2 separate regions of the Homo sapiens genome follow, and region 1 is linked to region 2. The links are contacts of gene promoters, found by promoter capture Hi-C in blood cells and fetal thymus (Javierre and others, 2016). All regions are on one chromosome and are shown on one strand. The core of a region is centred on a gene start or on the middle of the fragment in contact, and the rest is flanking DNA. Distances in the headings are between cores, read along the strand shown.

The links. Contacts are between HindIII fragments. The CHiCAGO score rates a contact against its expected background, and 5 or more counts as called.
Region 1: a contact is called between a fragment that was not itself captured here and the fragment with the promoter of HMBS in region 2, in 2 of 17 cell types (total CD4 T cells and M1 macrophages). The highest score is 7.9, in total CD4 T cells.

The regions. Positions count from the first base shown.
Region 1 is chr11:119,306,487-119,309,186 of GRCh38, forward strand. CBL (Cbl proto-oncogene) reads left to right here. Exons shown (of 16, transcript NM_005188.4): 16 at 1-1,663. It overlaps MCAM (melanoma cell adhesion molecule), which reads right to left. Exons shown (of 16, transcript NM_006500.3): 16 at 2,043-2,700. Among named protein-coding and RNA genes, the nearest start is that of MIR6756, 5.2 kb to the right of the region's middle. RefSeq lists an enhancer at 2-747. The HindIII fragment of the contact is 1,328 bases long and covers 730-2,057 here.
Region 2 is chr11:119,083,595-119,086,294 of GRCh38, forward strand. It overlaps HMBS (hydroxymethylbilane synthase), which reads left to right and starts at 1,287. Exons shown (of 14, transcript NM_000190.4): 1 at 1,287-1,472. The coding sequence starts at 1,440. RefSeq lists enhancers at 888-1,585, 1,515-1,564. The HindIII fragment of the contact is 13,649 bases long and covers 1-2,700 here.

The DNA of each region.
Region 1 (2,700 bases), core at 144-2,643, 220 kb after region 2:
GCAACTCCTCAGGCCTTGTGCCACCTCCATGCTGAGCCCTGAAGCAGGGTGTCCTGGGTGCCTGTGTGTCAGCTCCCTCCTCTCTACCTACCTCTGACCTTCTTGTGGGTGAGGGTGGCCATGCTTATGGCCATCTTAAAACTGGAGAGGCAGAGAACTACTTATGAGTCTGTAGACCACGTGTTGTCTTCCATGGCCTGTTTCTCCTGCTGTCTGGGTGAGTGAGCCTGCAACGCAATGCCCATGAGAGTAAATGCCTCCTGACCTACCCTGCTCAGCACTGTTCTAGTGTCTTGGCCTTGAAAGAAAAGCCTGACTTCCTGCTGACACATGTGGTAGGGGCATGGCAGCTATGAGGCACCTCCTACGTCTGTTTTCTGGCTGTGGTGACTTGGGATTTTTAACCTTATATATCTTTTTCCTTTACTCAAAACAAAACAATTTTTAGCACACTGAAAAAAAAAAAAAGCCAAATGTTTTGTGCCTTTCTAAGGCAGCACTGTATCCCAGGCTGCATTTTAGGACTTAATATGGAAATACCAGAGTCTGAGCTCCTCTACCTTGAGTTTCATTAGTCCTTAGTGTCTAGGAGACAGGAAAGAATGCTCTCTGTGACTGGAGAGGTGACATGCAGGTGCAGTGTGTCTGGAGTCCCTTTCCCCTGCTGTGAGACTTCAGTGGAGGAGAGAAGCATTGTACCCTGGGATCATTTGGTTGGTTCCAATCACAAGCTTAGTTATCAGGTTGCATGCCTTGTCTCCTGCAAAAGACAGAATGTTTCACAATTCCCAGGTAAACTCTGGACCATTCCAAGTGTCCTAGCCTTCTGATGACATTAATTACCTAGTTGTGTCGAGGAGTATAGGATGGACTCTCCTGAGAAGGGGAGGTTGGTGGCTTTGTCTTTTCTTTTTGCTGGATCCTGAACTGGTCTAGACCTCCTGCCCCCACCCCCCAGCCCCCATCAGATGTGGCTGGCCTTTCATTTGAAGGCTTCAGACTTAAAGCATTAAGCAGCTAGTGCCCTCTGCAGGGCCTGGTTTCCCCAGGGAAGGGCAGCAAGGAACATGGGACCAGAAGCCTGTCCTCAGTAATGTGACTATAGTGAGCTTTAGCAAAAGTTTTTCTATATAATGACATCTTACTTATCTTTTACCCTTTCCTCAGTTTTCCCCTGCCTTTAACTAATAAAGAATTGGGAGACAGAAATTTTAAAGTCCTCCTTATTCAAGATTTTGAAATTCTTAGCCTGGGAGTGCTGGAGAGAACCTGATGCTTTCTCCAGAATGAAGAGTCCCAATTTGTATATCAGTGTTAAGAAGAAAACAAAACAAACACATAGGTGAGATTTTCGTGGACTATTTTAAAAATGTGTCATTAATATAAAAAATTTATATTAGCAGTATTTAATCATTCTCACCTGTAAAGAATAAGAAAAACAGAAGGTAAATATTCTTACAGAGAATAGCAGAGCTTTAAGATTCATTTTCATTTTAAGTCCATTTTATTTTGCCAGTGTATTAATGTTTAGAAGTCTGTTTTACTAATGTTATTTATTAATTTTTTTTCATTTCCATACACAGTTAGTTAACTAAAGAGCTTTTTCAAGCACCCATGTCTGTAAAAAAATATTTTTAAATAAAGTTTCTTTTGTTGTAGCAGACTTGAGTTCTTGCTCATTCAGGGGGTTGGGAGGCAATACTCGAGTTGCCGTAGGACCAAATGCCAAGGCCCCCTTCCTCATGGCGGTGAGCCTGAGCTGCTGTCTGGAGGGCAGTTCCAAGTGGCAGGAAAGCATAGGAAGGGGACATAGCTCCTGCTAACAGCCTGCCAGGCCCTTCGTGCTGCGTCATCAGGGCAGTTTTGCTGCTGAAAAGTAGGGTGACTGTCTGCTCTGGTAGAACTTGAGCCATTTGCTCAGAAGCAGAGGTAACCCCTGATCTCTGCTGCCAACTGGAAACGGTTTTGTGTGCCTTTTGGTTGTAGTTTCACAGGCCCCCAGGTTCCTGTGGTACCCATGATGAATAAAAAGCAATGTATGATTTCTGGGACAATTAAGCTTTATTTTTCATATATATATATATTTTCATATATATATATACATACATATATAAAGGAAACAATTTGCAAATTTACACACCTGACAAAACCATATATACACACATATGTATGCATACACACAGACAGACACACACACCCGAAGCTCTAGCCAGGCCCGTTTTCCATCCCTAAGTACCATTCTCTCATTTGGGCCCTTCTAGGGTTGGGGCCCTGAGCTTGGTTTGTAGAAGTTTGGTGCTAATATAACCATAGCTTTAATCCCCATGAAGGACAGTGTAGACCTCATCTTTGTCTGCTCCCCGCTGCCTTTCAGTTTTACGTGATCCATCAAGAGGGCTATGGGAGCCAAGTGAACACGGGGGATTGAGGCTAATTCACCTGAACTCGAAAACAGCGCCCAGCTTCCTCACCGCAGGCACGTATCTTTTCTTTTTTTTTCCTCGAGACGGAGTCTCGCTGTGTTGCCCAGGCTGGAGTGCAGTGGCACGGTCTCGGCTCACTGCAAGCTCCACCTCCTGGATTCATACCATTCTCCTGCTTCAGCCTTCCGAGTAGCTGGGACTATAGGTGCCAACCACTACGCCTAGCTAATTTTTTTTTGTATTTTTAGTAGAGACAGGGTTTCACCGTGTTAGCCAG
Region 2 (2,700 bases), core at 37-2,536:
AACAAGAGTGAAACTCCATCTCAAAAAAAAAAAAAAAAAAAAATGGGCGTCTCACTCTGTCATCCAGGCTAGAGTGCAGTGGCACCACCACAGCTCACAGCTACCTCGACCTCCTGGGCTCAAGCGATCCTCACACCTCAGCCTCCTGAATAGCTGGGACTACAGGTGTGTGCCGCCACACCTGGCTATTTTTGTATTTTTTGTGGAGATGAGGTTTTCACCATGTTGCCCAGGGTGGTCTCAAACTCCTGGGCTCAAGCAATCCTCCTGCCTTGGCTTCCTAAAGTGCTGGGAATATAGGTGTGAGCCACTGCACCTAGCTGGGTGATTATTAATAATCATGATTGTTAATTATGTTCATGATTACAGGCGCGGTGGCTCACGCCTGTACTCCCAGCACTTTGGGAGGCCGAGGTGGGCGAATCACCTGAGGTCAGGAGTTCAAGACCTGCCTGACTAACATGGAGAAACCTCATCTCTACCAAAAATACAAAATTAGCTGGGTGTGGTGGTGCGTGCCTGTAATCCCAGCTACTCGGGGGGCTGAGGCAGGAGAATTGCTTGAACCCGGGAGGCGGAGGTTGCAGTGAGCTGAGATCGTGCCATTGCATTCCAGCCTGGGCAACAAGAGCGAAACTCCGTCTCAAAAAAAAAAAAAAAATTATGTTCATGGGAAAGCACTTTTCCTAACAAGCCCTTTTCTCACTACATGTAGCGTTTGTGCTCCCACTTCAGTTACTTGTCTTTAGGCATGACCTTTAATCTCTCTGAACCAGTTTCCTCATTTTAAGAATTGAAATGCTGGCTGGGCCAGTGGCTCACGCCTGTAATCCCAGCACTTTGGGAGGCCAAGGCGAGATGACTGCTTGAGTCCAGGAGTTCGAGACTAGCCTGGGCAACATAGTGAGGCCACCTCCCCGCTGTCTCTATAAAAAAATCTAGAAATTAGTCCCACGTGGTGATGTGCGCCTGTAGTCCCAGCTGCTTGGGAGGCTGAGGTGGGGGGATCGCTGAAGCCGGGAGGTCAAGGCTGCAGTGACCCGTGGTCATGCCGCTGCACTCTAGTCTGGGGACACAGTGAGACCCCGTATCAAAAAGAAAAATGCTGCCTATTTCAAGGTTGTAGCAAAGCTAAGTTTGAACAGAGCAAAGGAAGCGCCATAGAAGCTGCACTACTTGCTCATGTCACAGCTGGGGAATGGGGTGGTCGAATGGGGAGGTCCACTGTCGCAATGTTCCAATTCCCGCCCAGAGGGAGGGACCTCCCCTTCGAGGGAGGGCGCCGGAAGTGACGCGAGGCTCTGCGGAGACCAGGAGTCAGACTGTAGGACGACCTCGGGTCCCACGTGTCCCCGGTACTCGCCGGCCGGAGCCCCCGGCTTCCCGGGGCCGGGGGACCTTAGCGGCACCCACACACAGCCTACTTTCCAAGCGGAGCCATGTCTGGTAACGGCAATGCGGCTGCAACGGCGGTGAGTGCTGAGCCGGTGACCAGCACACTTTGGGCTTCTGGACGAGCCGTGCAGCGATTGGCCCCAGGTTGCCATCCTCAGTCGTCTATTGGTCAGAACGGCTATCTTTTTTTTTTTTTTTTTTTTTTTTTTTTTGGTCCGAGTAGCTTTTAAAGGGCCAGTAGCTCGGTTGCCCTCCGGAAGGAATGGGGAAATCAGAGAGCGGTGATACTGGGTTAAGAGTGGAAGGATTGTTTGGAACGGAACTCCGGTCCCTGCGGGCATCTGGGTGGGATTCCCATCAGGCCTGGGATGCACGGCTCTAGATTTAGTGACCCAGACCAAGAACGTTCGTCTACACAGACGGGGTCCTTTCATTCGAGGCTGGGCTGAGGCGGATGCAGATACGGCCCCTTTGGGAAGACACGTTCCACTTTTGATTCATAGGAGAGAGTATCAGCCAAGCCTCCGAACTGCACACAAACGTCTTAGAAGTGCGCCTTCTTTTTGTGTTATAGTGGTCTCCCAGCCACAGCCAACGCTCCAAGTCCCCAGCTGTGACACACCTACTGAATTACTACCGTGGGTGGGAGGCCGCCGTGGGCCTTTCCATTACGAGCCTGCTTGCCGAGCCCTGGGCTTGTGCACAGACAAACTGCAGAGCTGGTGGAGGCCACTGCCAGGCCGAGATAAGAAAGAGATGGGGAGCTGCTAATCTCCCCCTGTCCAGCCTGTTGGTGAGGGCTGGGATCTTTGCTCTTGCAGTCATTCCAGAGCCCTGGACTAGGAGTAGGAAGATCTGAATTGTGGCCCCAACTCTCTTTCGGTTATTAGCTCTGTGACCCTAGGCAAGTCACCTCATCCCTTGATGCCACCCGTTGCTTCTGTAACATGGTCCCAAAGGTGCCTGTCTTGTCCACCTGATAGGATTTTTGAGACGACAACAATATGCAAAAGCAATAGCTTCAACATAGAAGTGCTCAGTGTTTTATTTTTTAATGAAACGGTTTGACTTGGATATGCTGTGCACATTCAATGAACTTAAGGAATTGTTTGAACCTAGTAGTTCTGGGACCTTAGAGTCCTTTCTGTGGGCTCCCTGTGGCCCAGAATTTTGGTGGCCACGTTTAATATCAAGCCTAGCCTAATTTGCAAAGGGTCTCCCAGGGTTAATTTATTGGAGTGATCACATGGAGTAGACCAGAGTCTGAGGGCAGAAAGCTGTCACCTGCTTCGGCAATAGAGGCCC